Linked DNA regions of Homo sapiens: regions 2, 3, 4, 5, 6 and 7 are each linked to region 1. The links are contacts of gene promoters, found by promoter capture Hi-C in blood cells and fetal thymus (Javierre and others, 2016). All regions are on one chromosome and are shown on one strand. Each heading gives the region's core, a stretch centred on a gene start or on the middle of the fragment in contact. The rest is flanking DNA. Distances are from core to core; before and after follow the strand shown. Region 1 holds the start of HLX (H2.0 like homeobox). Region 2 has its middle 54 kb from the start of LINC02817. Region 3 has its middle 85 kb from the start of LINC02817. Region 4 has its middle 110 kb from the start of LINC02817. Region 5 has its middle 150 kb from the start of LINC02817. Region 6 has its middle 170 kb from the start of LINC02817. Region 7 has its middle 190 kb from the start of LINC02817.

The links. The method cuts DNA at HindIII sites, captures the fragments that hold promoters and counts their contacts. A CHiCAGO score of 5 or more calls a contact.
Region 2: a contact is called between a fragment that was not itself captured here and the fragment with the promoter of HLX in region 1, in 1 of 17 cell types (neutrophils). The highest score is 6.7, in neutrophils.
Region 3: a contact is called between a fragment that was not itself captured here and the fragment with the promoter of HLX in region 1, in 1 of 17 cell types (neutrophils). The highest score is 5.5, in neutrophils.
Region 4: a contact is called between a fragment that was not itself captured here and the fragment with the promoter of HLX in region 1, in 3 of 17 cell types (neutrophils, monocytes and M2 macrophages). The highest score is 8.4, in neutrophils.
Region 5: a fragment that was not itself captured here is called in contact with the fragment with the promoter of HLX in region 1 in 9 of 17 cell types (neutrophils, monocytes, total B cells and 6 more); the score reaches 18.0 in neutrophils.
Region 6: a contact is called between a fragment that was not itself captured here and the fragment with the promoter of HLX in region 1, in 10 of 17 cell types (neutrophils, monocytes, M0 macrophages and 7 more). The highest score is 26.8, in neutrophils.
Region 7: a fragment that was not itself captured here is called in contact with the fragment with the promoter of HLX in region 1 in 2 of 17 cell types (neutrophils and monocytes); the score reaches 9.5 in neutrophils.

The regions. Positions count from the first base shown.
Region 1 is chr1:220,877,560-220,881,925 of GRCh38, reverse strand. HLX (H2.0 like homeobox) reads right to left here and starts at 2,483. Exons shown (of 4, transcript NM_021958.4): 1 at 1,477-2,483; 2 at 553-732. The coding sequence starts at 2,068. It overlaps HLX-AS1 (HLX antisense RNA 1), which reads left to right and starts at 1,786. Exons shown (of 3, transcript NR_046901.1): 1 at 1,786-2,077. RefSeq lists an enhancer at 1,150-1,758 and a silencer at 2,877-2,926. The HindIII fragment of the contact is 7,579 bases long and covers 1-3,925 here.
Region 2 is chr1:221,280,395-221,284,760 of GRCh38, reverse strand. No RefSeq gene overlaps it. Among named protein-coding and RNA genes, the nearest start is that of LINC02817, 54 kb to the left of the region's middle. The HindIII fragment of the contact is 2,795 bases long and covers 873-3,667 here.
Region 3 is chr1:221,249,298-221,253,663 of GRCh38, reverse strand. No RefSeq gene overlaps it. Among named protein-coding and RNA genes, the nearest start is that of LINC02817, 85 kb to the left of the region's middle. The HindIII fragment of the contact is 316 bases long and covers 1,720-2,035 here.
Region 4 is chr1:221,227,174-221,231,539 of GRCh38, reverse strand. No RefSeq gene overlaps it. Among named protein-coding and RNA genes, the nearest start is that of LINC02817, 110 kb to the left of the region's middle. The HindIII fragment of the contact is 1,565 bases long and covers 971-2,535 here.
Region 5 is chr1:221,180,361-221,184,726 of GRCh38, reverse strand. No RefSeq gene overlaps it. Among named protein-coding and RNA genes, the nearest start is that of LINC02817, 150 kb to the left of the region's middle. The HindIII fragment of the contact is 338 bases long and covers 2,048-2,385 here.
Region 6 is chr1:221,163,935-221,168,300 of GRCh38, reverse strand. No RefSeq gene overlaps it. Among named protein-coding and RNA genes, the nearest start is that of LINC02817, 170 kb to the left of the region's middle. RefSeq lists a silencer at 1,116-1,235. The HindIII fragment of the contact is 1,801 bases long and covers 1,509-3,309 here.
Region 7 is chr1:221,139,185-221,143,550 of GRCh38, reverse strand. No RefSeq gene overlaps it. Among named protein-coding and RNA genes, the nearest start is that of LINC02817, 190 kb to the left of the region's middle. The HindIII fragment of the contact is 370 bases long and covers 2,082-2,451 here.

The sequences.
Region 1 (4,366 bases), core at 1,234-3,733:
CTTTAATTCCAAGAGAAAAACATAAACCTCATGCGTGGCCATCAGGCCTACGAAGAGTAGACAAAAATGTCCCTTGGGCCTGAATGATGACAGCCCTGAATTGAATTATCTCGTGTGTGTGTGTGTGTGTGTGTGTGTGTGTGTGTGTGTGTGTGTGTGTGTTTATTCCCGCATGTGTCCAGGCACCCAGACATAAACTCGCCAAGCACAAGTGTTTGAGGTCATCCCAAAATGTGTATATGCTAATAAGCAACATTGATGCTGCATTTTTCAAGCCCTCTGGGGCGAAAAGACTTCGAGAAAGCCCCCCACCCCACCGTCCACGCACACACTTTCTGGGATCTCCAGGCGCCTCTACCCCTTTTCAAGGGGAACCATCCGAAGCGAGCGCTAGCTCGCTGAGAAATCTTTCGGTTTCTCTCTCCTGACTCCGTAGCCTCCCGCCCCAATTGTGAGATTGCGACACCGTGGCAGCCCTGGAGGCGTCAGTCCTGAGATTTCTGACTGTTAGTCGGCTCGCCCGTTAGGCAGTACTCTGGAGTTTTTCCGTACCTGGAAACGTGTCTTGGAACTGATGCTGAACTGAATTTCTTGGGTTCGAGTTTAAGGGACTCAGGATTGCAGAAGCCTCGTTAATGGGATCTAGAGATGCGAAGAACTGGCCGGCCGAGGGCTGCAGGCCTGAGAGGTGCACCCCGGCGGGCCGCCCACCGGTTAGCAGGGAAGTGAGATCTGGGGACAAGGGAAAAGGATAGCAGGTTACATCTCGGGCACACTCACACTCTCCGCTGATTTGTTCCTCCCCTTCCCCTTGCCCTGGATTCACTTTTATTGAGCGAAGTCAAGAGAGAACCCGTCTAGGCGCTGAAACCTCTCTCTCCCAACAGTTGCCAAGGAGCGACGCACGAAAAGTTCCTGTGTGTCCCTCACGTCCATATGCATGTATATAGTAAGTAAAGGCTTTACATAAATCGGCTTACGGCCTCACTTTCACGTGTCTTCCAAGAACGCCACAGACGCAAAACCTCCGCCCCAAGGTGGCCCCACTCTGCCCGCTCATCTAGGCGGTTTTGTTTATTATTTACATTTCCTGGGTGAAATTTTTACTAGAAATCAGATAAGTGCGAAAGTGTTTCCCAAAAATGCTTTAGCTGTCAGAAAATATAATTCTGTCTCTAGATACATTATTAAAGAGATCAAAGTCATGTTAGCAGATAATTACACCAACCACTTTTATAAATATTGATTCTAAGACGTGTTTTTAAAGAATCCCTGGAGTCATTTTTTGTTTGTTTTACATAGAACAGGTGAGTTTTAGACCTAATGTTTTGTAGTTTTCTTACAATTCGTTTTCTTCTCTCCCGTTTTACCGATTTGTCCTTAATTGTAAAAACACTCAAAGGCACCCCAAGCCAGCCCGGGGTCCGGGGAGTGGGTCAGTGGTCAGAGGCCTGCAGCCTCCCGCCCAAGACCTACCTCTCAGCGTGTTGCCTTCTTTGACTTTTGGGTCAAATTCTGCAGATAAAATGCGGTCAATTCCAAATTTGAGGTCTTTGCTGGAGGGGGCCGGGGCAGAGCCACTGTGGTGGGGGTTCGGAACCACTCGCGTCCCCGAGGCCGGGGGCTGCAGGGCGCCAGCCCGGGGCGGAGGCGGAGGCTGTTGCTGCTGCGGCTGTTGCTGCTGCTGTTGTTGTTGCGGGTGATGGTGGTGGTAGGCGGCTGAGAGCGGAGACAGCCGCTGCGGGAAGCCAGCCGGGACTTCGGAGGGCGCCACCACTGGGGTGGGTCGAAGCGGGGATCTGGCCGCCGCTTGGAAAGAGGCGTGCGGGTGAACCGAGCCCAAGTGCGCGGTGAGGGCGGCGGCCGAGGCCCCTGCCAGGCCCTCCGGGGCCGCCCCCAGATCCCCCACGCCGGCGTGCAGAATGTCTGCGATGCAGAAGGAGGGCTTTTTGACGGCGGCGGGGTCCAAGGGGAAGGAGCAGCCGCCTGGGCCGGCCGAGGAGCAGTAAGCGGCCGACCAGAGGCTGAAGTTGGAGGCGTAGAAGGGAGCCAGCCCGGCTGCGAACATCCTGCCGGGGTGAGCCGCGCGGCTGCCGCAGTCCAGCCGGACTGGGTGGGTGGGCGCGCGGGGAGGGGCGCGCGAGTCCCGGAGAAGGCGGCGGCAGCCGAGGACGATCCGCTTTCGCTTCTCCGCCCGCACTGAGGAAGAGAGGCCGGGAGCCCTAGCGCCACCGAGGGAGGAGGCGAGGGCCGGATCTCGGCCGGTCACCGCCTCGCTCCCTGGCCTCGCTTTAAAGGCGGCGCGGCGCCCGCACTCCTCGCGGGCTGGATGAGAGCGAGGGGCGCTGGGGCCGCAGGGCGGGCGGGGGAGCCAGGGAGACGGGAGCCGGACACCGCAAGAAAACCCAAATAGCTAAGCCCTAAGAGCTAAATTTAAAACAACAACAATAATAGTCCGTTAGTTAGGGGGGGGGAAAAGTAATAGAAAAAAAAAAAAACTCGTCTCTAAAAACTCCCAAAGTTTTGGCAGGAGCTTTCGAGTCAGGCCCGGGGTAGGACCTCGATCCGAGCGCTCATTGGTCATCCTCGTGACCAATGGGAGCGGGGAGTGGAGGGGAATTAGGAACAAGGGGGCCTGGCCGGACCCTAGCCACGCCCCGGCCACGCCAAAGTTTTTGCTGCGGCCGCGTGGGCTTAGTAGCGCACATCGCAGTGCTTCTTGCTACTCTGCGTAGGGGCCAGGCAGCCGCTCCGGAGGGCTCTGACTCTCTTCTAACTTCTGCAGCTCCGAACCGCCACGGGGCAAGGAGGGTTGATCACAGGAGCTTTCCTGAAGCGCTTGTCACCCGGGGCGAGTTGGGGGCGTGGGGAAGGGACGGTAATCTCACTCTTTAGGGCTCTGCAAAGCCCGCCTCCCGGTGGAGAGCGGAGCGCGCTTTGGCCCCTTTGCTTCCCTTCTCTTGACCTCATTCTGCTTTTATTCCAGGAGTCCGTGTCCTCGGCAAAGCCCCTCATCTTTCCTGGGCCCTTGCCCAAATGTTGCCGCCCTGAGTCCCGGCCCAACTCAGCACCGCGTCCGCCTCGTGCCTCCCAGGAGATCCTCCGGGAAGCGAGGAGGAGGGGCGGCCGCAAATTGGTTTTATTCTGAGCTGTCACACAGTGACAAATTGAACGAGTGACTTTTCAAACAAAATAAGACGGATGGCTCCAAACGTCTCTCTTAGACGCAGCCAAACCTTTCCCCGGAGCCTCAGAGGCTACAAAACAGGCTGCCTCCCGAAACCCGGGAGAGCGGCACGCGCTTCCATCCTTTGCAGGAGGTTGTAGGAAATGTTAGCCTCACCCCTCCACCACATCTCCGGATCACGTGGGGTTCGTTGTTTTGCAAGTGCCCACAAGAGCAGATTTCCGTGGGGTTCAATACTGCTTTCAATTCTGTGACAGCTTCCCCAGGAACCCCTTGGGCCTGGTTGCAGGAGGAGCTGCGTGGTGGTCAACGTCTTCCATTCGTGCCTTGGGTCTTTAGAACGCAGGGTAGTGGTGGTGGAGGTTTTGTGCAACATCGACATATCTATTTTAAGAATTTCTTCTCTTTAAATTATAGTCAGAATGAATTTCCCCACCCCTCTCCCAAACAAACCACAGGCCACCCAGATGAGCTGTTCTTGCACATTTTCAGGAAGAAAATAAAATAATACGAATAATGAAACCACGAAAACTTTTGTTTTCGATTGCCCTAATAAGCATCTCCTAACAGGGATTCTGTGACATTTTTATTTCCCTTCAGCACGAAGGCTCCTCACCAAATAAACCCAGAAAAGCAAGTGAACTTGCCATGCCTATCTCGAGTTCAGGGTTTGGGCTTATAAAATTAATTTCTGGTGTTTTCTCTAGCCCCTTGATGCAGATGCTATCCTTTTAAGCTTTTGACTTTCTCCTGGAAAATTATCAATCACTTCTGATCAGCCAGCACTAAGATCTCTCCCTCTCCCTCTCTCTCTCCCTCCTCCCGCCCTCCAGCTCTCCCGCTCTCGCTCTCCATCTCTCTTTTACTGAAAGGTTTTCTTCCCCTGCTCCACGCAACCAGGAGAGAGGTGCTATTTCCAGAGATAGATGGGTGTGTTTGGCTGAAGGTAGGGGTACCTGGGGCGAGAGACGTATTAAGACCAGTTTTTCTGTGTCAAGGTGAAGGCAAAGGAGCGACAAGTACAACATGGGCAATTGAGGCGCTGGCTGAGGGTTCTGGTGAGCCTTCGGTGGGAGTGTGCGTAGCGGAGGCCGTGAGCCCTCTGCTTTCTAGTGCCACTTCCAGTTTGATTGCGTTTCTAATTTGACTGCAAACATTTAGACCTCAGCCTAAGCCCAA
Region 2 (4,366 bases), core at 1,021-3,520, 400 kb before region 1:
GAACTCTAAAATCAGTATGCCGGGGCTGATGAGCTCAGCTCCCCTCATCCTAGCTCTGTGGTTTTGGGCAAACGATTTAACCTCTCTAATCTCAGTTTCCTAGTTGGTAAATGGGAATAATTATAGTACTCATGTAAAGGAATTTTTGTGAGGATTAAATCAGATAATCCATGTAAAGTACTTAGCATAGTGCCTGGGATGGTATATGAGTTTGATGGATGTTGATTTTTATGGTTCTAGATATTCTGTATTTTAACTGAACTTTCGATCCAAATGATGAGTATTATTATCCTAGTTTTTACAGATAATCAAATTAAGGAAGAGGAAGTAACTGGACCAAGTTGACACATCTTGTGTTTAATTGAACCAGGATTCAGTCTTTAGCTGTTTGATTCTAAAGTCTTAGAATTTTCAGTGTGCTTTACTGAAATCTACTCCTTGTAGAACAGCTTTCACTGACTTATTCCTTGGCATTTTGCCAACTACCCACAACAAAGGATATTTATGAGACAGACTCATTATGTCTGTGATTGTAGCTATTGAAGGGATCATGTTAAGAACATTGTCTACCACATCACACAGCAGTTTCAGCGTTCATGGGAGAAATTCCTTGGGAATCAGTTTTCACAAAAACTATGCTCCTTACTGAACAAGTCATTTGTGTTATTTTTCTTATGCAGAACTGTGACTAATCATGATCTTTCTTTCTTTGGGCTGTTAAGGAGCTTAGAATCAAATTTGTAGCCTTTTTCTGCTGCTTCCATGTACTAATGTTATTACAGATTTATGATATTCCTTTTCTATTTCCCCTTTATTATCATGGCCTTGATAATATATTTTATCCCAGTGAACAGTGTGTATTTTTAAAAGCTTCCACGGTGCCTTTGTGGAATAAAACAAAAATGAATGTACTTTAAAAAATTTAAAACTACCATTTAATACATGTTTATCTCTTTTCTTGGGTTTGCTCTTTGCTAGTCTTATTGGGTCAGATGCCATTATTTTCCCAGGGTTGGATAAGCCCTATTGGAACACATGAACACAATTACTCAGAGTTTTATGATTCTCTAGTATGTCAATAACAGGCAGAGGCCAGGCTGATTTAAACTACAGAAATTTATGAAAATAAAAAACTTCATAACTAAACATGCTAATTTCTTTTATACACAAATGTTTGGCTGGTAGCAGTAGGGAAAATAAGAGGGAGAGAATTAAGAGAGGAAGCAATTACATTTACTTATTTACAACATCCTCACAAGCCCTGTCTGTTCATTCAAGGCTGGTTCAGGTTCCCCTTCACTGTGCTCTCTGCTATCTTTGCATTTATTGCACTGTAATGTAAAAGGATTGTTTCTTATTCTTTATTATTTTCCTAATGTCAAGCATATTACCATAGTATGTAGAAGATTAGATAGATAGATAGATAATGCAGACTCAATATATGTTTCTTAAATGAATGAATCAAAGACATTCAACAGAGTGAGGCAGGTAAAAGACTTGGAAGATTTATGGGAGGGTAATATGTACATTATGTCTATTAAATAAAAATGTATAAGCCAGGCAAGGAGGAAGGGGAAGGAAATTTTAAGCAAAGGAAACTGTGTAAAGTCAAAGCTGTGAGAACACATGATGTGCTGGAGGAATTGCAAATATTTCAATTTGGCTTTAGTCTGGGTAAACGTGGAATAGAACAAGATGAACTTGGAATGTGAATTTATCTTGAGCACTGCAGAAAGTCATTGATGAATTCTAGGTAGGGGAAGGGGGGAGGTTATGAGATGATCACATATGTGTTTTAGAAATATTACTTTGATTCCAGTGAGAACTGTGGATTTATTGCAGACATTTAGGATGTTATCACATCAATCCAGGAGAGAAATTATGATGCTTTAAATTAATTAGGTAGTTGAGTTGTGATGAGAGGTTTTATGATGATAGAAATCATAGATGCAGTATTCAATTGACTGTGGAGGATGTGGGAGAGGAAGGAATCTATAATGCTCTCCATGTTTCTATGTTGATTAACAAGATGAATGTTGGTATCATTTTCCCAAACAAAAAAATAAAAGAAGAGAGTGGGAGGAGGGAGTCAATTTTGGACATGTTGAGCTTGAGATGCTAAATTAAAAAGACCTGTAGATACAAAAATGCAGAGCTCCAAAGATTGCTCTGGGTAGACAGTGCATAGTTTTGAGGAATTGGCATACAGTTAGCTGAAGGCAATGGGCAGGATGTGTTTTTAAGCAGATTGGGAGAGGGTAAAGGATAGAACACTATTGGACATTGCCCTCTGGGTAATGAGCAGACAAGAAGGATCCAATGAAGAAACTAGAAAAGATGGTCAGAGGGAGTATTAGAGAGATCTCAAGCCAAGAAAGAAAATTTCAGGACATCAGGAGAATCTTGTGTTTGCAGAAATTTGATAGAGCAGACATCCTAAATAATCCTTCTAAAAACAAATGATGTTTCTATACGCCAATTATTTTCAAGCTGAGAGCCAAATCAAGAACATAATCCCATTTATACTAGCCACAAAAAATTAAATACCTAGGAATACATCTAACCAGTCAGGCGAAAGATCTCTACAAGGAGAACTACAAAACACTGCTAAAAGAAATCACAGATAACAGATGAAGAAACATTCTATACTCATGGATTAGAAGACTCAATTTCATTAAGAAGGTCATATTGCCCAAAGCAATTTTCAGATTCAACCTGATTCCTATCAAACTATAATACCAATGTCATTTTTCACAGAATTAAAAAAAATACGCTAAAATTTATATGGAACCAAAAAGGAGCCCGAATAGCCAAAGCAAACCTAAGCAAAAAAACAACAACAACAACAAAAAAAAGCAAACCCATCACATTACCAGTCTTCAAACTATACTACAAGGCTACAGTAACCAAAATAGTATGGTATTGGTACAAAAAGAGACACATAGACCAATGGAACAGAATAGAGAACCCAGAAATAAAGCCACACACCTACAACCATGTGATCTTCAACGAAGTAGAGAAAAATAAGCAATGGGGAAAAGACTCCCTATTCAATAAATGGTGCTGATATAGCTAGTGAGCCACATGCAGAAGAATGAAACTGGATGCCTAACTTTCGCCATGTACAAAAATTAACTCAAGATGAATTAAAGATTTTAATGTAAGACCTCAAACTATAAGAATTCTAGACGAAAACTTAAAAAACACCATTCTGGACATGGGACTTACGAAAGAATTTATGACTAAGTTTTCAAAAGCAATTGCAACAAAACCCAAAATTGACAAAGAAGACCTAATTAAACTAAGGGCCTTCTGTACAGCAAAAGAAACTGTCAACAGAGTAAACAGACAACATACAGAATGAGAGAAAATATTTGCAAACTACGCATCCAACAAAGGTTTAATATCCATAATTTATAAATAACATAACAACAAGCAAAAAACAAATAATCCCATTAAAAATGGTCAAAAGACAAGAACAGACACTTCTCAAAAGAAGACATATAAGTGGCCAACAAACATATGAAAAAATGCTGCACATCACTAATCATTACAGAAATGCAAATCAAAACTACAATGAGATGCCATCTTATACCAATCAAAATGACTACTATTAAAAAGTCAGAAAACAAAAAAATGTTGGCAAAGCTACCCAAAAGGGAAAGCTTATACACTGTTGGTGGGAAAGTAAATTAGTTCAGCCACTGTGGAAAGCAGTTTGGAGATTTCTTAAAGAATTTAAAATGGAACCACCATTCAACATAGCCATCCCATTACTGGGTATATATCCAAAGGAAAACAATCTTTTCTACCAGAAAGACACACGCATTTGTATGTTCATTGCAGCACTATTCCCAATAGCAAAGACGTGGAATCAACCTAGATGCCCATCAGTGATGGACTTGATAAAGAAAATGTGTTACATACACCCCATGGAATACTATCTAGCCATAAAAAAAAATTTCATTTCCTTTGCAGGAATATGGATACAGCTGGAGGCCATTATCCTAAGCGAATGAACGCAGGAAGAGGAAATCAAATACTGTGTGTTCCCACTTATAGGTGGGAGCTAAACACTGGGTACTCATGGACATAAAGTTGGCAACAATAGACACTGGAGACTACTAGAGAAGGAAGGGAAGGAGGAAAGGATTGAAAAACAATTTATTTGGTACTATGCTTAGTACCTGGGTGATGGGATCATTCATAACCCAAGCCTCAGCATCACACAATACACTCAGGTAACAAACCTTTACATGTATCCCCTGAATCTAAAATAAAAGTTGAAAAATAAATAAATAAATAATAAAATTTAAAAACATATTTTCAAATAAAATGCTATAAGGAACCTTTAGAAGCAAAAATT
Region 3 (4,366 bases), core at 628-3,127, 370 kb before region 1:
CACATTCTCTATTGCTTCCTCTCTTGACATGTGATCTCTGCACACACTGGCTCCCTTTTCCCTTCTGCCATGAGTGGAAGCAGCTTAAAGATTTTATCAGCTGCCTAATCTTCCAGCCAGCAGAATAATGAGACAAATAAACCTCTTTTCTTTAGAAATTATCCAGCCTCAGGTATTCCTTCATAGAAACACTAAAGGACTAAGGCACCATCTTACTCATATTAAATTTTTGATACTATTAGAAATCAAATATTTTATTGATCTTATTTCATATAATTTATTGCTACCGTATAGAAATACAATTAATTTTGTATACTGATAACTCCTATATTAATTCTAGTATTTTCTGTGAATTTCATGGGAATGTCCACATTCAGTATATGTCATCTGCTTGAAAAGATGTATATTCTGCTATCAGTGGGTAGACTGTTCTTTTAAAACAGAGGTTGGGTTGGCTAAAAGTGTAGGACAAGTCTCCTATATGTTTGATAAACTTTTGTCTGGTTGTTCTATTGATTTTTAAAAGCATAGTATTGAAATCTTCAATTGTTATTGTAAAATTATCATTTTCCCTTTCAATTCTGGCTGGTTTTGCTTTCTTTATTTTGAAATTCTGTTGTTAGGTGTATATATTTATAATTGTTATATTTTCCTGATGTATTGACACTTCTAGCATTATAAAATGACCTTCTGTGTCTCCAGTGATATATCTTATGTTAAATTCAATTTTGTCTGATGTTAGTATGACCACTGCAGCTCTTTTTTATGCCTGGTATATCGTTTTCCATCCTTTGCTTCTAACCTATTTTTGTCTTTGAATCTAAAGTGTATTCCTTATAGTTAAAATACAGTTGGATGTTGCTTTTCGATCCATTCTGACAGTCATTGCCTTTTGATCAAGGTGTTTAGGCTTTTCACATTAATAAAATTATTGATATAGTTGGATTTATATTTGCCACTCTGCTTTTTGTTTTCTATATGTCTCCTATATTTTTAGCCCTCTGTTGCTTTTAATTACTTTGGTGTTAAAAAATGTACCATTTTAATTCCTCTTTTGATTTTTTTTTGTTATAATTGTATTAGTGGCCGATCTGATCTGAGGATTAACATATACATAATAATTTATAACACAAACTTCATAAATTAATACTAACTTAATTCTGGTAAAATATAGAAAATTTAATAAAGCTTCTCTCCTTCTCTCTTTGTACTTTAATTGCCATATATATTACATCTGAATATGTTCTAAACCTAACCCTGCAGTGCTATACTTATTGCCTTCTATCACCATGATAGTTCCTTTAGGCTAGTAGAGATGTAGGCCCTCCCACTGCCTATATTGTCACTTTTGCCATGCTTGGTGTAGGCATTGCTCACCATTCCACATCAAGTGATACCCCTTCAGCTGTGGCAGTGAAGCTGCACATTTTCCTGGCCCACCTGGCCCTTCCAGACCCTCCTTGCAGACTGAGCTGGAGGGTGGGTGGGGTGGAATGGAGCAGGTCCACGCAAGAACATCACTGGCTCCCATTGTTCTTACTTAAACTTCTTATTTGAAGGTTTTTAAGCATGAAGGATTCTCTGATTCTTTTATGCTTTTGTTTGAGTCCTAGAAACAGATTTTTAATCCATTTTATCTAGGTGTGTAGTTAATTTGGGAAGAGAGTTTGCTGACCTCCTCACTCAGCCATGTATGTAAATTTTAACCCCAAGTAAGCTTTAAGTTCTAGGAGACAGCTACCATATTTTCTACTGCTTTTGCACTCATTCAATGAGGTGAATTGCTTTCCCTATCACATAATGTCCTGAAATTGAAAGGATTTATTACAGTACTTCAGTAACATTGGAGACCATATTGCTTGGAGACATAGCGGAATCCCAAAATGAGCATTGTCAGCATTTCCATATTTGAAAAGAAAGAAATGTCTGACATACTTCACTGACCAAGGTAGTGCAAGGTCCAAATAAGAAAAGGCACGGTTACTAGTGTCCCAGAATTTGCCTCCTCCAAACACAGAAAGAAGGAAAATAAGCTTAAATCCCTACAAAATGGAATTTGGTTAGTTTTATGAGAACCTCCACAAGGCAGAGAACATAGGAATATTTTTCTAACGCCTGTTGAAGAAAATTTATCTAAGGCAACATTTAAGAAATAGGACTATAATTATTTTTCTGTCATGCTTTCTATTGAGACATTTCTGAGGCTTGGGAATGGGCTAGAGGGCCTTTCAAAAGTCCCTTCTAAGAATCTTCAAATCTTGATTTATGAATCCCCCTACCACATCTATATCCATTGAGATATTTTCTAAGTTAAAGCACAGAAGATTTATCAGTCTTCAACATACAAGAACCTCACACATTTATCTCTCAAGTGTCATGATGGTGGACTTTCACAAGGCCTAAAAGCTTTCCACAGACTTTGAATTGTGCTTTTATTTTTATACCTTTCCTATATTGAAAAACAAATAATAGAAAGAAAAAGCTAACTCTGTAAGGGAGGGAATACAGCTGATACCCAGTTTGGGCCACCTAGAATGCATCAGAATTAATGATAACTTGGTCTGACAGCATCCTTACCACAAGAGATGAAGTCACCCTAGGAAGTGTTGTAGGGGAAAATAAAATCAACAGAGTGAAAAAGAAAAAAAAAACTATAAAGTCTGAAATATATGTTGTCCAAGTATTTTCCCTCCATTAATTTTGGAAGCCCTTGAGTGTTTTCAGGGAAATTTAATCTGCATGTTTCTGAACCATTTACACTTAACTCACCACAATGTTGCTCTGTAACAGTCATTTGTTGTCCAAGAAACGCTCTGAACCTTGTTCATAAAGATTTTTATTAAAGCAATTGTTTTCTTTTCCCTTAAAATGAAATTATGCTTTTCTGAATTGAAGGGAACATTGAAATGAACCCTAAACTCAAAACTTGTGTGGCACAAATAATAGATCCACTTTTGATCAAAGTGTGTCACCATTCAGATTTCCAACCCAAGGTACTTTGGTTTTGGCAGCATCACAATTAAAGGTTCAGTTGAAAAGACACAGGTTTATTACTCCTTGGATAGCTAAAGTGAGCCCTCTCAGGCCTCTTTTAAAAGCAAGACTTTTAATGAACTTGGCCTGTCTAATAATCAGCTCTGCTTTAGACCCAACTGGAATGAAGCTCTGAACCAGAGTGTGAGAAGTGAGACAATGGAAGTAGCAGAGATGATTCATGATGTTAAGGACTTTATAGTCCAAGGGACTAAACAATAAAATGAAGGCAAACATTGCTCCTACCTCATAGGATTGCAGTAGAGATTAAATGAGATTATCGTATAAGGTGTTTAGCATTTCCAAGAACATAGTAAGACCTCAATATATTTTAACTCCAATAATAATTTATCTTTACAAGTGTTTGTATTGACAATCAGACTCTAAACCAGGCACCTCTAGACAATACACTTAAATAAGACCACTCGACAAGAATGCTCACTCATGCATTTACTCATTCGCCAGCTCCAAAAACCCTTGTGAGAATGAATGACTCCTAGTTCAAAAAGTATTTTTGTACTGAATTTCATGTCATGATTGAAAGCCTAGCTAGAATACTACCATGAGAAAAGCCATTATTGCATTATAAGAATCCGAATGAGTCTGGCTCATGAATCAGCTGATTTAATGTGTACTATATATCAAAAGATTTTGTGAATTTGTTTTGTGTCGTTTAATCTTTAATACCAATGAAGAGTATTTGAAGAGCCCTTTGTTAAATCAGCTACAGAACTTTAATGTATTTTACTCTTATTATATTTGTGATGGTTAGTTTTATGTATCAATTTGGCTAGAGAATAGCTTAGAGTTACCTAATCAAATGCTAATGTAGGTGCTGCCATGAAAGTATTTTGTAGATAGAACAGCTACAATTATAGGTTGGTGCGAAAGTAATTGCGGTTTTTGCCATTGAAAGTCATGGCAGATAACCTAATAATAGTTAACTTTAAGTGAAGACTACCTTCAATAATGTGAGTGGACCTCATCCAATCAGTTTAGAGTCTTAAGAACAATTACTGAGGTTTCTTAGAGAAAAATATATTCTGCCTCAAGACTCCAACAATTCCTGTCCCTGTGTCCAGCCCTCAGACGTGCCAGCTCCCACAATCTGATACAATATCTATTGATCTTTTAAAATGCTAACATTTTTAAAAATCAGAGTAAAGGCACGATCTGGAAAGTAATAAGCTGTTTTGTCTAGTAATTTCTGTAGTAACCTAAATTGTTTCACTTGCCCTCTGGAGGAAGTAGCATTGTCTTTGCTGCCTGCCTATCACCCTTGTGACTTAAGGGTGTACAGGTTTGCCTACCTTACTTGTTGCACAGTGTTACC
Region 4 (4,366 bases), core at 504-3,003, 350 kb before region 1:
TTTAGAGCCAGTGTTCATCTGCTAGTTTAATTCTGTGCTAGACAGAGGCTTAATAAGTACTTACTTAATGAATTAATTAATTAAAATATTTCCATTTCTAAGCTGCTGATCTGTTGTGGCTACCCTTTATTTCTCTGTGGCAAGAAGGTTTTTAATTTTTTTTTTTAATTTTTAAATATGTGAGTGAGTGAGAGTAAAGTACTGAGGCTGATTCCACAAACCATGCAAAAAAAATTGTCTTTAGTATTTGCCAATGGCCATTCCTTAAATGATAGACTAACAAATCACTGAATCATGCCCTTTTGCTGTGATAAGGAGATATAGAGATGAAAATTATCTTTTCAGTTTTTCATTTAAAAAATAATCCCTACATTTATCCAGGAGGTTGATTTGTTTTGAAAGAACACCATAAAATTTAGATGTAGAAATTAAGATTACTCATCTTTCTGGTGAACTGAAGACACTAAAACAAGTCCTGTATACTTAGGTAGGACCATATACATCAATTGATAAACAAATAAAATAAATATTTTAAACTCCATATTGCCTTCACAGAACCTAGGCCTGTAACGTATTCACTAAGCAAACTACTGTTTAATTATTGCCTTACTCTGCATACCTTACTCTGCATATGCCAAAAATAGGCTGCATGTTTTAGGCTGTGTGGCAAGTAGAATGACCAATGTTTCTATTTCCCAGGGCTGTGGCAACAGCCCAGTATTTAGATAGCTGCTTCCTTGCCAACAGAACACAAGAGAGCATAAATTTACTACCAAACATAGATGCCAGGGAAACAAGGAAACCCTGAGGTCAATGCCCTAGCCCATGTAGGAAATTTTATTCTTTGGGTGAGTATAAAGAGTTCAGCAAAAAAGGTCAGAGAGGAGTAAGGAGGTATGCCAATTTCAGTAGCTTGTTTAACTACTTTGGGATTCCATTAGCCTACCTATTAAGATAACTTAGTAAAGCTTATTCATCTCAACTTTATTTCCAAGGACAAAAGGCATGACATTTTGAGTCAAGCAAGGCTGGACTGAGTTTTGTAACAACTTACTATTTGAGCGAACCTAGGCAAATCTCCAATATTGGTTTCTCCATCATAAAATAAGACTACTAAAAATACCAATTTCAGAGGATTGTTACTGTAGGATTTGCAAGATAATAATGTAAAACAACACAGTGTCTGACATTAGTATGCACTCAAATGTGAGCTATAACTTTTGTAGCAACAACTGTTTGAATACTTACTATGAGCAAAACTTTGTGCTAGAAAACTCTGATAGACATAAGGATAAATTAGACATATTTCCTCCCTGCCAGGAGCTTAGATTCTAACAGATGAGATAAGAGGAAGTTATAAACTCCAAGACAGCAAAGACTTTATGTTTCTCATTCACCTTTCTATATCTAGCACTGACAACAGTTTCTGGTATATAGTTGGTATACAACAAATTTTATATATATATAACTTTCTACTAGGTAAAAGTAGTAGATTATATATTATACTTATTTATATATAGTATATACTATAAAAAGTAGTAGATTACAGGTGGCTAGATCAATTTTTATATATAAATCTATCTATAATCTACTACTTTTACCTAGTAGAAAGTGCTAAAGTGAATAGGAGAAATAAAGAGAAAATATAGGTATATAAGTAAGAATCAGGACTGTGTAAGAATTTATCCATAGTTTCTCATCTGTAAAAGGATGGTAATTACACTTGCCCTGCTTCCCTCATACAGGTTATTGCAGAGTTCAAATTAAGAGTATGCTTACCTGGAGGCCAGGCGTGGTGGCTCATGCCTGTAATCCCAGCACTACGGGAGGCCGAGGCGGGCGGATCACAAGGTCAGGATATCGAGACCATCCTGGCTAACACGGTGAAACCCCGCCTCTACTAAAAAATACAAAAAATTAGCCGGGCGTGGTGGCGGGCGCCTGTAGTCCCAGCTACTCTGGAGGCTGAGGCAGGAGAATGGCGTCAACCCGGGAGGCGGAGCTTGCAGGGAGCCGAGATTGCGCCCCTGCACTCCAGCCTGGTCGACAGAGCGAGACTCTGCCTCAAAAAAAAAAGAAAAAAAAGAAGAAGAGTATGCTTACCTGAAGTCAGTAGATGGATGAGGCAGGTAGAAAAAGGACAATGAATTAATCCATATAAAATTAATGACGTTTGCCAAGAGTCGTGTAGTGCTTACTATGTGCTAGAGACAGTTCTAAACATTTCACGTGTTAGCTAATTTAATCCTTGCAACAACTCTGTGAGATAGGCCTTATTATCCTCATATTGCAGAAAGGGAAACTGAGGCACGGATAGGTTAAATAACATGCCCAAGGTCATGTAGGTAGTAAGCCACATAAGTCGGATTAAGCAAAGGGATTCTTGTCTCCCAACCAGTGCAGCCAGGAGCTCAGACTTTGCTGTTATTTTGACTTATTGGAAAATGCTGGTCCTTTCCAATCAAGAGCCTCTGAATCCTCCGTCTCTGTCCCTCTCTTTCTAGCAACCCTCTCCAACGCTTTCTACCACAAGCTTAATTTTATTATTTTGACTGCTTGCTAGGAGGAGGAGGAAGAGGAAGAGTGAGCTATAAATATCCCTTCCTAAGTGCCCCCCAAAGTGAAACCACCTGCGCCTGTGTGAGGTAGCAGGAGAAGCAGAGAGCCTCAACTGTGGAGAGAGGTTTGCATCCCATCATTCAACGGAGTGTTTTAGAGACCTCCTGCCGGGCTGACTGCTGCGAAGGGGAGTAAAGTAAACAAGCCACAATGAATGGTGTCACTACAGGGTTTTATCATCTACCTGCTTGATTATGTCAGTAAGAACTCAAAAGCAAGTTCTGGGCAGATAAAGCATCCTGAGAAAGCTGAGCTTTGGGTTTACTGAGCCCCCAGCTATCGAGCACCTTTTGGGGTTATGGGGCACTCAGGCACTTATTAGGGATAGCCTGTTTGCTCTCACTATATCCTTGGGTATGGAAACATTCTGCAAACTGGAAATAGAACAAATATTCCTGCGACCAACTAATAATAGAGGAAAGGCATCAGTGGGGTCAGGCTGTCTTTTCAACTGGAAGAGCAAGTACATTTCCATTCTGCAGGTGTCTGGGTGCAGCCCTTTTATACATCCTAAAAGAAAACTTGCCAAGATTACAGAGTAAATCAGTGATTAACCTCCGTCCACAGCGTTGTTTAATCCGCAGTTTTATAAGGCCAGCACAGTGATGAACCAGCCAACTCTTCTGAGGATTCACTCACTCTGGACAGACCATTCTGGAGGTCAGCTCTAGGGCAGAACTGAGTTAGCAAAAGTTAGCTGTGCTTGCTTTTGCCAAAGAGCAAGGTTTCTCTTGAAACACCCACACATGGTTTCAGGTGCGCCACACACACACGCACAGACAACCACAAGGAATTTTTATTTTCTTCAATCCCAATCCAGAGTCAGAAACAGCTGCCAAATAAGTCCCTCTGACAGCACCTCCTACACGACGAGACGCCAGAGCTGCAAAGTGTACTCGGTAGGCGTTTTAATTGTGAATCCAGATGCTCTACCCTTTCAGTCCTGGGCTCTGACCTTTCACTTGAAAGTCAATTTGTCAGTCTGCTCCGTGTGTCTGAAGAAATCATCAAAGCCTCCCTGCCGAGGGGCTCCCCATGGGCTTCGCGTATGTGGCTGCAACAATGCTACAGTACACTAGCGGAAGAATATAGGGGCACATGGAGACCCCGCAGCTCCCCTGCCCTCATCGCTGCTTGGGTGCATTCTCTCAGCGGAGATTGCTTCACACAGGGATGGACACTGAGTATCTTTGAGGAGGGAAAGAGGAAGTAGAGGCAAAAAGCCATCCTGAACCATTGCTTCCAGCCCCTTCCGCCACCAACCTGCCCAGCGAAAGCCCCGTGGACAGGTAGGAGAGAGAGGCTGCCCAGAGGCCCCATAAGCCCACTCAAGCCTCATCTGGGGAGTTTCCGTTACTGCCAGCACAAAGTTCAAGTCTGGAAATAAATGTTCTTCTGTGCAGAAGGCAAGGAAGATGGGTATCATCAGAGATACTGTTAATGTGAAAACAACTAGAGAGGCACAAGGAGCTGACTGAAGGCAACTCCCTCACCTTAACTTAGGGGACTCTCAGGGACTTACTTTTCTAGTTCCTTGAAAGACATCTAGACCAGACCAGTCCCAATAGCACCCTTCTCTATTCCCAGTTTGCATTAGTCAGTGTTCTCTAGAGGGACAGGACTAATAGGATAGACATATATATGAAAGGGAATTTATTAAGGGGTATTGATTCACAACATCACAAGGTGAAGTCCCACGATAGGCTGTCTGCAAACAGGAGCAAGGAAACCAATCCGAGTCCCAAAA
Region 5 (4,366 bases), core at 967-3,466, 300 kb before region 1:
TTAACCAAGAGTCACTCAAAAAGCCAGTCCTAAAACCTCAACTTCTAATCTGGCTTTTTACCTGGGTATTCTCTTCAGAAGGACACAGTTAGTGGAAAATTCCCATTAGTCATCAAACGTTCTAAACTGCAAAACTGAAAACCACTTTCTCTTCTCCACTCTCCAAACTCTCAACTCCTCTTATTCCCTTTTCTTAATCCTACATTTCCCCCACCCAAACTTTCTCTCTCTCTCTGCCTCTCTGGCTTTATACTTAATAGGCTCTATAATCCAGTTTAGCAACAAAGAAAACTCAACTAGAGTTTTTTTTTTTTTTTTTTAATACAGGTATCCATGAGATTAAGGTGCTAAAAAAAGAAACCTGGCAGAAATGCAAGGTTGTTAAGGTTGTTTAATATTTGACCATTAATGAATATGATTCACCATTTCAATACCCTGAGAAAAATATGACTATAAACAGATGTAGATAAAGCATTTGACAAAATTCAGCATCCGTTCATGAAAATAACTTTCACATTAGGAATAGAAAGGCACTTCCTTGACTTGATAAATGGCATATACAAAACTCCAAATCTAAAATTATACTTAATGATGAAAGACTGAATGTTTTTGCCCTAAAATTGGGAATAAAACAAGGATATCTGCTTCTACCACTTCGATGAAATATTGTTTTGAAGGTGTTAACCAGGTTAATAAAGCTCAAAAATAACAAAAGGCATAAAGATTACAAAATAAGAAATACAATTGTCTCTATTCGCAAATGACACAATCATCTACATAGAAAAGAGTTTGAGAATGAAATCAATGTTATTTAATGCTTCCTCTTTTATCTATAATTATTTCATTTTAATCTAATCTTTCTTGGGGATTTTCCCTGCAATACTCCCAAATTAATAGTATTAAAAAGAAGTATCAAAATGAATCATAGATTTGGGTAGATAAAGGAAATGTAAGTTACCTAAATTAGAAATCTTTTAGATGGAAAATATTTATTACATCAAAATTAAGAATTTCTGTTTAACAAAAGACACTCTAGAGAAATTTCACAGAAAGTGACAATTAGGAAAAGATATTTTCAACACCTAAATCAATATATGATGAATACCTAGAATACAAAAAGACTTTCTGAAAATCAAAATGAAAAATATAAAAATCTCAGTAGAAAAATGGACAAAGAATATGAACAGGCTACTCAAAAAACATGACACTCTCACAGTTAACAAGTATATGCAGTGATGTTAAAATGTATGACAAATCAGACCAATTTGAATTTGAATTAAAATAAGATACTGCTTTACGTCTGTCAGATCTACAGAAGTAGGGAAGTGGTTTAATGCTAAAAGACAGGAACTCTTGTCCCTGCAGCTGGGAGTATTGCCTGGTATAGCCTTTATGATGAATGACGTGACACTGTGTTGTCAAACTGAGTGCACATACACTCTGTGACTAAGCAGTCCAGTTCTGAGAAGTCTGCTGCAAAAAGCTGCCCACATGGGTCCACAACACACAATAGTGTGCACAGTGGATTTGAACTGTGACAACTAAGATACAACTACTTTTCCTAGAATTCTCTTCTATAATTCTGAATTAATCTGGGCCTTGGGGACATTTCACATAAGATCTGGAAGACAGAAAGGAAGCAGCTAACATAACCTATTCCATTTGGAAATTCTGTGTAGGGCACCAGGCCTACAGGAGCTTATGCATATCGTCCCTGATGTGCTGGCTCACCTTGCTGGCCGCAGTTCCTGCAGTTCCTGCCAGATTTTCTCCTTCACCTTCTCCATCCTAGGCCAGCAATGAGCACCTCCACCTCCTGGGAAACAGCTGAGCTTACACCCCTCCAACTTTTTTTCTCCTCCTCCTCCTCCTCCTCCTCCTCCTTCTCCTCCTCCTCCTCCTTCTTCTCTTTGTTCTCCTCCTCCTCCTCCTCATTCCCCTCCTCCTCCTCCTCCTCCTCCTCCTCCAAATCCTGGGCCAGATAGGTGTTTAGTTCCACCACAATGGGCTCCAGCTTCTCCTGCAGTCACCACACCATCAAGAAGCTTGGAGGCAGCAAGAGAGGTTCAGGTCATCCTTGCAGTTTCCAGTGAGTCTTTGCTTTCCCTTACTTTCTGTCTGTCTTTCCTTCCCAGCTCCCTGCCCTGCTGACTTCAGCCCCAGTACCACCTACAGAAACAACAACTGTATATAAGCCATTTAACCAGCTATAAAAATGGCATAAGTTCAAGACCTGATAATAAACTCCTTATTTTATATCCTTCCTAGTGCATCTGCTTCTCTAACTGAATGCTGGCTGATCCAGAGGAGGAGGTTCACCCCAGGATTTTGTGGTATCAGGAAAAGGTACCTCAAGGAATGGGTAAGCAGAATGTGATGGAAGCTTACCCAGAAATACTACACAGAAGTTAGACATGGCACGTGGAATACATGGCACCATGAATAGATTTAAAAGCAATGCTTTCTTTAAAGCAAAATTAAGAAACTACGAAATTTATAGTGCAATAATTTTTATGAAAATTTAAAAATTCATCCATACATACAGAAAACAACACTATTTCAGGATACATACAATTTGAAGGACACATAACAAATCCTGAAGAGAGCCAGTGGGCAATGGAGAATAAATACATGCAAAAAGTAACTGAATACATATAGACACACCTATAAAGTTCAAAGCAAGAGAACCCTTGCTGAGGGCAATGACGAAAATGTGCCAGGAACCAAGGATTATCTTTCCTGCTACTAAAAGCCCTAGATGGCTGGACTGTGGGAGACAAAAGAGGGAGCCATGAGTTGGACCTGGAGGTGGGGTGCATGCAGTGAATTCAGCCCCAGGGGCCTGCCTTGGACTGCCTATGGCAGTTTTTGACTCCATAGGTCTTGGTACATGCTACTCTTCTGTCTAGAACACTCTTTCCTCCCCTCTTTACCTAGTTATCTCCTACTCAGCCTATTTCTGAGGCCAGTTGTCGCTTTGTAGTGAGAGAAAGAGATCTTTCCTTCATTTCTTGACTATGCTTAATATCTTTATTATGTTTTTCATAAACATATATAAACCGTCTTCAGGGAACTCATTCAGCTTCAACATTACAATCTCTTTCTGTATTTGTTTGAAACTTACCCTACTAGATGATAATCTTCATGTGTGTACGAGTGTTTCTCTCCATGGCAGTGCAAGCCTAACCAAGTGTGCTGTGCATAGTCAGTGCTCAATTAAAATACATTGATGAATGAGTGAATCTATTTGTTGTTGGTCAGTTGATTGCTTGATTAGTTTAAGTTTGTGTCATGGCAGAGGATTAGAAAACTGGATTCAGTGAAAGCCATCACTGGGCATTCCCAAGCCTAGTTGAAGGGCCACGTATATTCATGCATATTCATGAATTAAATCCATATCTATATATTCTAGTTTGGGACTTCATGAAATTGCTAACAATTGTGAAAGCTGCTATCTGTCTGTCTTTGTGCTTTCTATTCTCTTCCTCCACTCTCCTCCCTTTGCTCCTTCTACACAAGACCATGAAGACATGCCATTAGTTTTGTGAATCACCATTCAGGCTAAAGAGACTAAATTATAATCAACTGAATAATTCTCTATCTAGGAGATGGTTCACATTTTGTTAATAATTCTTTCTGGACACATAATTTGATGATTGCATATCATTTCTTTAATGCTCCTGCTAAGAAAATTATAAATTAAGTCCCTCTTTATAAAAAAAAAGATTGCTGTTTCACTAAGCCTGCTGTTAAACTGAGATTAATGTTCCATATCTGAAGTATAAATTACCTAATAGTTCCTCCCACCACACAGCTCAGGAATTTAGAAACCCTGTATCAGGATTTCCTCCATAAATGTGTGCCATGAATCTCTCCCTCCTTAAGGCACATACCAAAATGGCATGTTAGAGTAGTCTAGTACAACAAATTCCATCCCAAATATCTCCATTTTGATAAAACTCAAAGGTATCACACACCAGCACCTTTTCCTCCCCACTTTTCTTTTATTCTCTCTCCCTCCTTGTTTAATTATTGAGCACATGCAGAAAACTTATATACTTTTAATTCACCTATCTTTTCTTTTAAAAATAGTAAGCTACTCACATTTTTGAAAAGTACTTGAATCTATCATTTCTACATAAAACATATTGTAAATTTTTTTTTAAAGAGACACTCTGTCCATTCTTGGTTTTAATAAATGTGAAAGCACTTCCTGGACTGGATTTCAGATCCCAAATCCAAGGCTCTCAAGAACTTAGACTCAGGATTCTATAATCATCTGTGAAAAACAAATCAGAAAAACTTTTTATAAAATATCAAAGAATTCTTCCTATCAAAATATGTATTGCCATGTAGTGACCCATGT
Region 6 (4,366 bases), core at 1,160-3,659, 290 kb before region 1:
CTCTTCAAGATTCTGGTTTTGATGGTCGGGTTCACTAGCCACTGGCCCCCCACGCTAGACGCACGAATGGAAATCGCCTGCAGTGGGAAATGGGAGGATTACCCTGGGGTACATCTGAGTGGATGCAGGCGAGGGGACATAGTGAGTACACCCAAACCTGAACGCTTTGAGGAATGAGCTTATGACAATACAGTAATTGCAGAACTTCCAATCTGAAGCTGTTTCTCATTAATTCATCAAGTGTATCTTAAACTCCTTTCATATACTGTGCCAGATACAGAGAAGGGTTTTTAAAAGAAGTGGCATACGTTTTTAAAGTATAAGGCATGCCATTTGCTCTCTAAAAACTCGTAATGTAGTTGGTTCAACGAGACTACCGCTCATGAAACAGCTCAGTTAGAGCCTCCTGCTAACCTTGTGAGACCAGGCAAACCATTGGACTGCTCCTTCTCTGCAGGTCAAATGAAGAGCTCAGAAAGTCATAGTTATGCTGCACTGCAGTGCACGTTAATGTTCCTCCTAGTCACTAGCTCCCTGAGGGCGTCAGCAGAATCCACATGTTCTACCACCCCACCACCTACTGGAAACATAGAATCATACGCAAGATTTCCACTTTAGGTTAATGACTAGTCAAATTAAGAGATGCTGAGAAGAGCAAATGTCATTCCAAATTGAGTTAAAGCACACAGACATGCACATACACACACACACACACACACACACACACACACACACACTTCCAGCTGCTTCTTTTAATGTGACCCAGCACACATTGGAACACTGGGGCTCAGTCCCTGTAAGCAAGAACTTTCTTTCCACTCACATAAACCAGGCACATCCCACAATTTCAATGAACCAAACGCTTGGCCTTCAAAAGACGTGACTCTCCTACATTTTCATCACATTTTAGTTATTTTCCATATCGATAGTTGAAACTGTCCTACAACTTCAGGGCTATAGCTATTTTTTTCCACCTGTCTGCTAAAATGCTCTCAATTTTCCTCCCTAGCTCTTCTTTGCATTGAATTGCGTACCTTTATCGAATGCAAAAAAAAAAAGTAAAGTTTGAAGAGACCAGAGCATTTGGGGAAGTATGATTATTTGCTAAGCCTTACATTTTAAAGTGATTAGCCAAGGTTTGAGAAATTTCTCAGAGTGACTGTCATATGGAACCAAATAAAAAACCACAGAGATATTTGTAGTTTAAATGTTCTTTAAGTAACTGCATTATTACCACAGCACCTCCGAGGCTTCCCCTTTTTGCAGATTGCACATTGTCACCACTTCCTAAATAGCTGGCCTTATTAAAACACTACAGGCTTTGGTAAAAATATCTCTTGCTTTGGATAATTTAATAACTGTGGAGGGGGAAGATCTGGTTTTGTTTCTACAAAATCCTATCTTTGGGTTTACCACCCAAAAGAAAGAAATCAATTTAAAACATGTGTTTGGAGAGTGTACTATTTGCTTAATACCATGCTTGACAGAGAGGGAGATGGAGAAAAGCTTACAAATGAGATGGCAGAGATCAGCAGCACTCTCAAAATGATATAATGAGAGTTTCAGCAATGGGGTTACTCAAAGGGTCAGAAGAAGGAGAAACTCCTAGATGCTAGTCTCCTCACCAAGCCTTTGTTCACTGTTGTTGCTTTTAGTTATCGGCTGTACCCTCAACTGTTCTAATGAAACCAAGTCATCACAATCTATAGTGGGAAAATACTTTCCATCAGCTCAGTTGCATTCTTATCCTGTCATCTTGATATTTATTGGTTTCCCACCAAGAAATCAAAGGTGGTCAGAATGCCCAGTTACGTCCCTGCTGTATCTTGATTTAGCAGCAATGGCTGTTGAAGGCCGGAGACCCAATGATGTAGGAAGAAAGGCTGATCCTTTCCCTGCCAGCTCTGTGCCCAAGTTAATGATTCCATCATGTGGGTTTGTTTCCTGGGAGAAAATATTCCTTTTGGAAGGGGAGGGAGGATGAGTGCAGTCTGACTTCATGGCAGAGCATTTTGCAGTATGCTTTTTTTTCCCTTACTGCTAATTCCTGACCTCAGCAGATAAATAGAAATGAGACTCAGGCAAGTTAAAAATAATTTTAAGCTCTTCTCCCAGAGGCAAATGCTATATAACAGGAGACCCAAACAGAACACTTCGGCCCGAGTCCTAGCCATGATCTGGGTTCCACAATATGCTAGTTAAAATTCTTATCATCGCTTGATGACAATCAGTCCCTGGGAATTCTGGAATGGTTGCAAATCCGCCATTTCCTGCAATTCATCAAAACCTGGCCTCTAAATGGTTATGACTTTCTTCAGAAATATCATCATACATCACAGTCATGGGAGTCCCCTGTGTTCCTCTTCCCTACTATGACTGGGTCACCTTTCAGAATGCTTATTTTTACCAGAGGAAAATGTAGGATGGAGTGACCTCTGATGAGACGTGTCTAATCTAAGAAGGATGGTTGTTCATAATCTAAATTGCAGATAAATTAAATGAGCTTATCTCCCAGAAGGGCTAGAGCAAGATAAAACAAAACAAAACAACCCCCCTCCCCAAATGTAGTGTGTATTCAAACATTCTGTGGTTTAAGACAGCAAAAAACAAGAATGCCTAGATTGGATGAAAGCAGGAAAAAGATTAAGGTCAAGTAGAACATTCTCAGAGTGATGTGGAGAAAAGAACACTGGACTCAGAGGAAATCTGAATATCAGAGTTCTTGTTCCAAGTTGCTGAGTAACTTCTCTCTGGTCTGTTTCCTCAGCTCCATAGCATTCCAGTACTAACATTCTGTGCTTCGAATCAATCAATCACTGTAAAATCTGCCCAGAAGACTCCATCATCTCTTTCCTCCAAGGCAAGAGAAGGAAATAGGACAAAAGCAGATGCTACACTGAACAGATGACTTCTTCCCATCAGCACAGCCATTGCTCACACCCTGACTGCCATCCTGCCATCTTGTTCAGGGACCTACATGGGCTTCATTGAAAACTCAAAAACAATTCAAATTCTTATTTGTCCAAAAAAGCCCAGAGCCTTCTCCATCTAGTCCCAAGCTGAGAACAATCTACGGCCCTTTCATCCTTTTATCCTTTTATTTCACACTTCTTGGACACCTGCCATATTTCCTTCCTTCATTTTGGTATGAAGTCAGAGGTCAAATTCAAGACCTGTTAGAAAAGCATTCCAGATCTCACAAATGATGATCAGTGCATTTAGCCCACATCAGGGAATCCATCGCTTTTACTCCATTAATTCTCATTTCTGCCCACTGGGCACAGAACCTTACAGGAAGCACTAGAAGCTTGGATTGTGCCACAAGGACGTTACCATCTAGTTGGAGAGACCAAAGCACAGGAAATAAGGACCTCCTTACAAGTGAAACATGAATCCAAAATGCCAGCTGGGAAGAGCAAAAAGCAATTAGGAAGTAAGAGAATTGTAGTTCTGTTTGTTTCTACTCCCACAGCCATTTAAAGTCATTGGACTTATGGAATTGGAAGTGGCCTCAGAGACCATCTAGCTACCTCTTTTATTTTAAGTAAGAGTTCTTTAATAATTGGTTCTTATTTGTATGTTTTATGCAAATTTATAATGTTTTAAAATGATTCAAGTTTAGAATAAGACTTCTAATTAACACCTGGAAGTCAAGTTGAATGATTATTTAATACACTTAACCATAATGTAATTAACCATAAACATACAAATGAATGTTTAAGTTTCAGAATGGAAATACAACCAGAAACACAATAAATATATATGGAAACTATTGTTTTCTGCTAACTATAGAGAATATTAGGCTACAAAAAGAAATGATACTCCTTATGAAAATCAGCACAATATGAAAATTAGGTATCTTCAGCTGCTTCTCCTTTACATTCTAATTATGCCTTTTAAATTTGCCTTATTTCCCATTTCTTTAGTTATCCTTCATTTCTTACTTACACAAATGACACATCTTCTGATTAATCATTTTATAGCAGCATTCAAAATTCCAGTGTCATGGAGAGGAACTTTTAATTTTACTCTATTATTTATGGAATATAGCTTTTCCCTGCTTGACCTTTTTGTGTTCACAAGTAATGCTACCCAAACCATGAGTCACATATCAAATCCACTATGCCTGGCCCCTCAGGATCTCCTTCACTCTGAGTGGAAAATCCCTGGCCATACACAAGACTTTTGCTGTTGTAATTTACTGGCTGATAAATTAGAAAGGCAAAGCTCTGACTTGTTTAGTCCTGGGTTAGGGAAAGAGAAGTTGCGCTTGATTAAACAGATTGTTTAAAAAAAAAAAAAAAAGAAAGAAAGAAAGAAAAAGGAATGTTATCTAATCTATATTGCAGTGGGTCCTTAAACCCAG
Region 7 (4,366 bases), core at 1,017-3,516, 260 kb before region 1:
ACCAATCTCATTCTTGTTTATTTTAGTTAATCTTCACTTTCTGGCAACTTGTAGAACTTTTTCTTTGTACTTGATGTTCTTAGATATTATCATAATGTGTAGGGTGGGTTTTCCTTTTCTTTTATGTTTGACAATTCATTAGCCCTTTCAAACTGAAGTCTTCTGTCTTTTTTTTAAGTAGGAGTAATTACCTCTATTCTTTCTCCAGATTATTTCCTTCCATATATCTCCACTTTCCTTCTGAGTGTTCTAATACTAGATATTGGCACTTCTATCCACCATGCCTGTTAGCTTTTTAAATTTCTCTATTTATTTTCTTTTTTATATACATTCCTGCTGCCTTCTGGAAGAATTTCTCAATTAACTGTTCTACTGCATTAATTTATTTTTTCAGTTATATCTGTCCTCCTATATATTTTTCTTCCTTTTAAGCCATATTTTATTATTCCACTTGTTGTCATTGCTTTGTCTTACACTGCTAGTATTTTCCCTTATCAGCTTAAGTGTTTCTATCATATTTATTTTAAATTCTTAGTCCACTTCTAATATTTCCGTTTCAGAGAATGCATGTACCCCTTAGATGTCTGGTCATTTTAGCCCAGAAGTCTTCCCGTGAGGATACCAGCTACCCTGCCCAGTTTAAGTGAGTTAATAAAGAGAGAATGAGCCTCCATGTGGAAATCCCAGACATCACCAAACCACTGTGAATTACCCTGATTTGTAGGAACCCATCATGTAACTCTATTGCTCAGGTCTTGACCTTAAACCTTAAGGAGAAGATGCATTATGAGAAGGTAGCCTCCCTAGATTTTAATCCACGAGCCCTGTGGGTCTGAAGGGTAGGGGTAAGGCAAATGGGTCCAGAAGCCCTTGTTTTCATTAACTCCTCCCTCAGCAATATTTATGCAGCCTCTCTGTGATCCTGGGTCACCTCTGCAGTGAAGAGGCGAGTGATGGCTGTCTTGAAGTAAAGCCAGAGAAGGACAAGAGCAGAATCCAGAAAGCTCCACTGCCACCTTGGGCCACCTTCTTCCCCTGGCTGAAACTGACACACGCAAGTGCAAATAGTCTTCTGTACCCTCAGGGTGTTCCCACAGTCTGTTGGTTGGTTTTATTCATTGTTAGAATTCATGTTTCACTTCTGTTAATTTTTTTTCTTTTCTCCAGGATTAATTTGAGAGAAGAGGGCATCATCCTTGTTGGAACCAGAAATCTTCCTACACAGGTTAGAGAGAGACTTCCCACAGTTTATAAACGCATGTGAAATTGTTTGTTCACCTGTAATAACATAGATAAATTATTAAGTTAAATGATGATTATATTCCAATCCCCCCACTCAAATTCCAAATGTCCTCATATTGTGTCTTCTCTTCTATTCAAAAATCAGTCGCTAAAAGTGTGTGCCCTTTAAGAGGCCTGCCCTGTCAGCCTGTGTCGTTCATTCACTGCCTCCCTGTCGGGAGCACCACTCGCCACATTCCTGACAGGATTTTGACAGGGTCTAGGATGTCAGACATGCTTATTAGCATTCACTTTTCTCATTAGACTGTTAAGGACTTGCTAATTAAAATGACTTCTTAAAATCTTCTAGTTATAATTAGTCACCAGCATAAAGTTGTCCACATTGTTTCTGCCATGGCAATAATTTTCCTCTCAGATCCATTTCAAACTGTCATTTCCTCAGTACTCAGCCTCAGGCATCCTCAGTATTGGCCATGCTCACTTAACACAACTTGGTTCCCTCAGTTCATACCCCATTAGCTGAATTCCTTCACAGGCACACTCCCTCTCAATTAGCTTTGGAATGTTGTATAGAGGAAACGGCATTACACCAAAGGGTCAAGTTCTAATCTGTGTTCTTACAGAAACTCGATGTATGACAATAGCAAAATCATTTCATCTTCCTCAGTTTTTTATAATCTACAAAATGGGGTTAAAGTTGGAAAAGATGGAAATAAATTATTGCAAATGTTCCAAACTCTAAACCTCTATGATTTAGTTTAAGGTTATCTATGCTCTACTTAAGATTAGGAAATATGCACATATTTCTAGAGACCTAGTTCAACTTACTAGAGAAAGCTTATATTACTCCATTCTCATGCTGCTAATAAAGACATATCAGAGACTGGGTAATGTATAAAGGAGAGAGGTTTAATTGACTCAAGAGTTCAGTATGTCTGGGATGGCCTCACAATCATGGCGGAAGGTGAAGAAAGAGCAAGTCATGTCTTACATGGCAATAGGCAGGAGAGCGTGTGTAAGGGGACTGCCCTTTATAAAACCATCAGATCTCATGAGACTTACTCACTATCATAAGAACACCATGGGGAAAAACCCATCCCCATGATTCAATTTCCTCCCACCAGCTCCCTCCCACAACACTTAGGGATTATGAGAGCTACAATTAAAGGTGAGATTTGGGTGGGGACACAGCCAAATCATATCAAAGCTTCAGTAGCTTTCTAAAGACTACTTCTAGCTGTCCTTTTTCCCTTCATACAATTCAGTTCATCTCACCTCTAGAAGAGTAATATAGATAGATATCCTACTCATAATTTATTTCCACCAGCCCAAATCATAAACTTACAAAATTTATCAAAGACTTACTCAGCCCTCAAATAAATAGTAAGTTCAATATTAGAGTTTTTATTATCATAACTTAGCAGTCCACTCGCTCTAACTAATGAGTAGAGCCCACCATTAACAACATTACTATGGCTGAGCTTCCAGCATCATCCAGACCACCATCTCTGATCAGTCTGAAATCTTACAAAATACCATTTATTAATGTCTTCATTTAACCTTGACCACTGAAACAGAAATCCACATGCACTAGAGGCCCAGTCCCCACCAGTGCATAGTATACCCATGTAACAAATATGCACATGTGCCTCCAAATCTGAAACAAATAAAATTTAAAAAATAAAAAAATTAAAAAGAAATCAGAATAAGACTATTCTGATGACTTTCTTGCTTGAAAATGTTCTTGGAAAAGCATTGAATTATTTTGAAACTTCTTAAAGAAGCTGAGCGCAACAAGCCTGTAGTCCCAGCTACTTGGGAGGCTGAGGCAAGAGGATCACTTGAGCCCTGGAGTTTGAGGCTCCAGTGAGCTATGATTGCACCACTGCACTCCAGCCTGGGAAACAGGGCAAGTGCTTGTCTCTAAGAAAATTTGGATCTAGTGTAAATGTGGGGCAAAGGAGGGCATTGGTTCCTATTTTAGTAAAGGCAATTGCCTGTTTCAAAAGTGGCTGAGCCAAACTACTACACAAAGTTCATTCTGCCAGGTTCTTAGCACAAAGCAACTACTACTGGAAATAATGCGTTTTTCAGCAGCATAATGCTTATAGCTTCTGGAAACTTCAGAGAGAATTTCCTCAGCTCTCAGGAATGATTGGATTCATGATAGCATTGGTCCAGTACATACATCAAAGTAAAACAGGGAAGTTCCAGCCAGGCAGTCCCAAAGCAACACTCAGCTTCTCTTTGGAGTCTTTATTCCCAAGAAGTTCTTCAGGCCAGCTCCTGGAATTCCAATACCAAAGACTTTTTAAAATTGTGCTCCAAAGCCCTATTCTTTGTGTTATACTCTCTATGAGCTTACAAAAATTAATAACTCCCTTGTGACTTTATTAGACAAAATGCACACAGTCTTTATAGTATTTGGACTTTCATTCTGATTACTGTAATTGGTAAACTCCAGAATTGCCTTATCTTTGCTAAACATATCCTCCCCACATATGATTAGGTATGGCTACACACTATAGACATTTTTGTGTAGGTCAAGATGTCAGCAAACTTTTCCTATAAAGCACCAGATCTTTTGCATGTTGTGGGTTATACGGTCTCTGTCACAACCACTTAACTCTGCCGTCATAGCTTGGAAGCAATTATAGACAATACATCAGTGAATGGACATGACTGTGCTCCAATAAAACTGCAAAGTAGATGGTGAACTAGGTTTAGCCCATCGTCCAAGTTTGCTGTGCCCTTGTCGAAGCAGCCTTAATAATCAGCTCAAATAATTTTGTACCTGCTCTAAAAATAAATGAGTTTTTAATTTAGCAAAGTATTGAACTTTCTCTAATGATGGAGACTATTTTGTACTTTTATTCTGACATAAATAGATAAGCAGAAACATAGTCCAGATTTAGACTTTCTCATAATTGGAAATTTAAACACAGTTTGGCTGAAATACAATAATAACTAGAATTTATCTAAGGCATAATAATTTATAAAGCTCTTTGACATACTTTATTTAATCTAGTCATCACAACACTATTAAATAAGTATTATTTTTTCTTTGCTTTTTGTAGTGTAGGAAACTACATAAAACTAAGTATAATGGTTCACTTAGAAACAG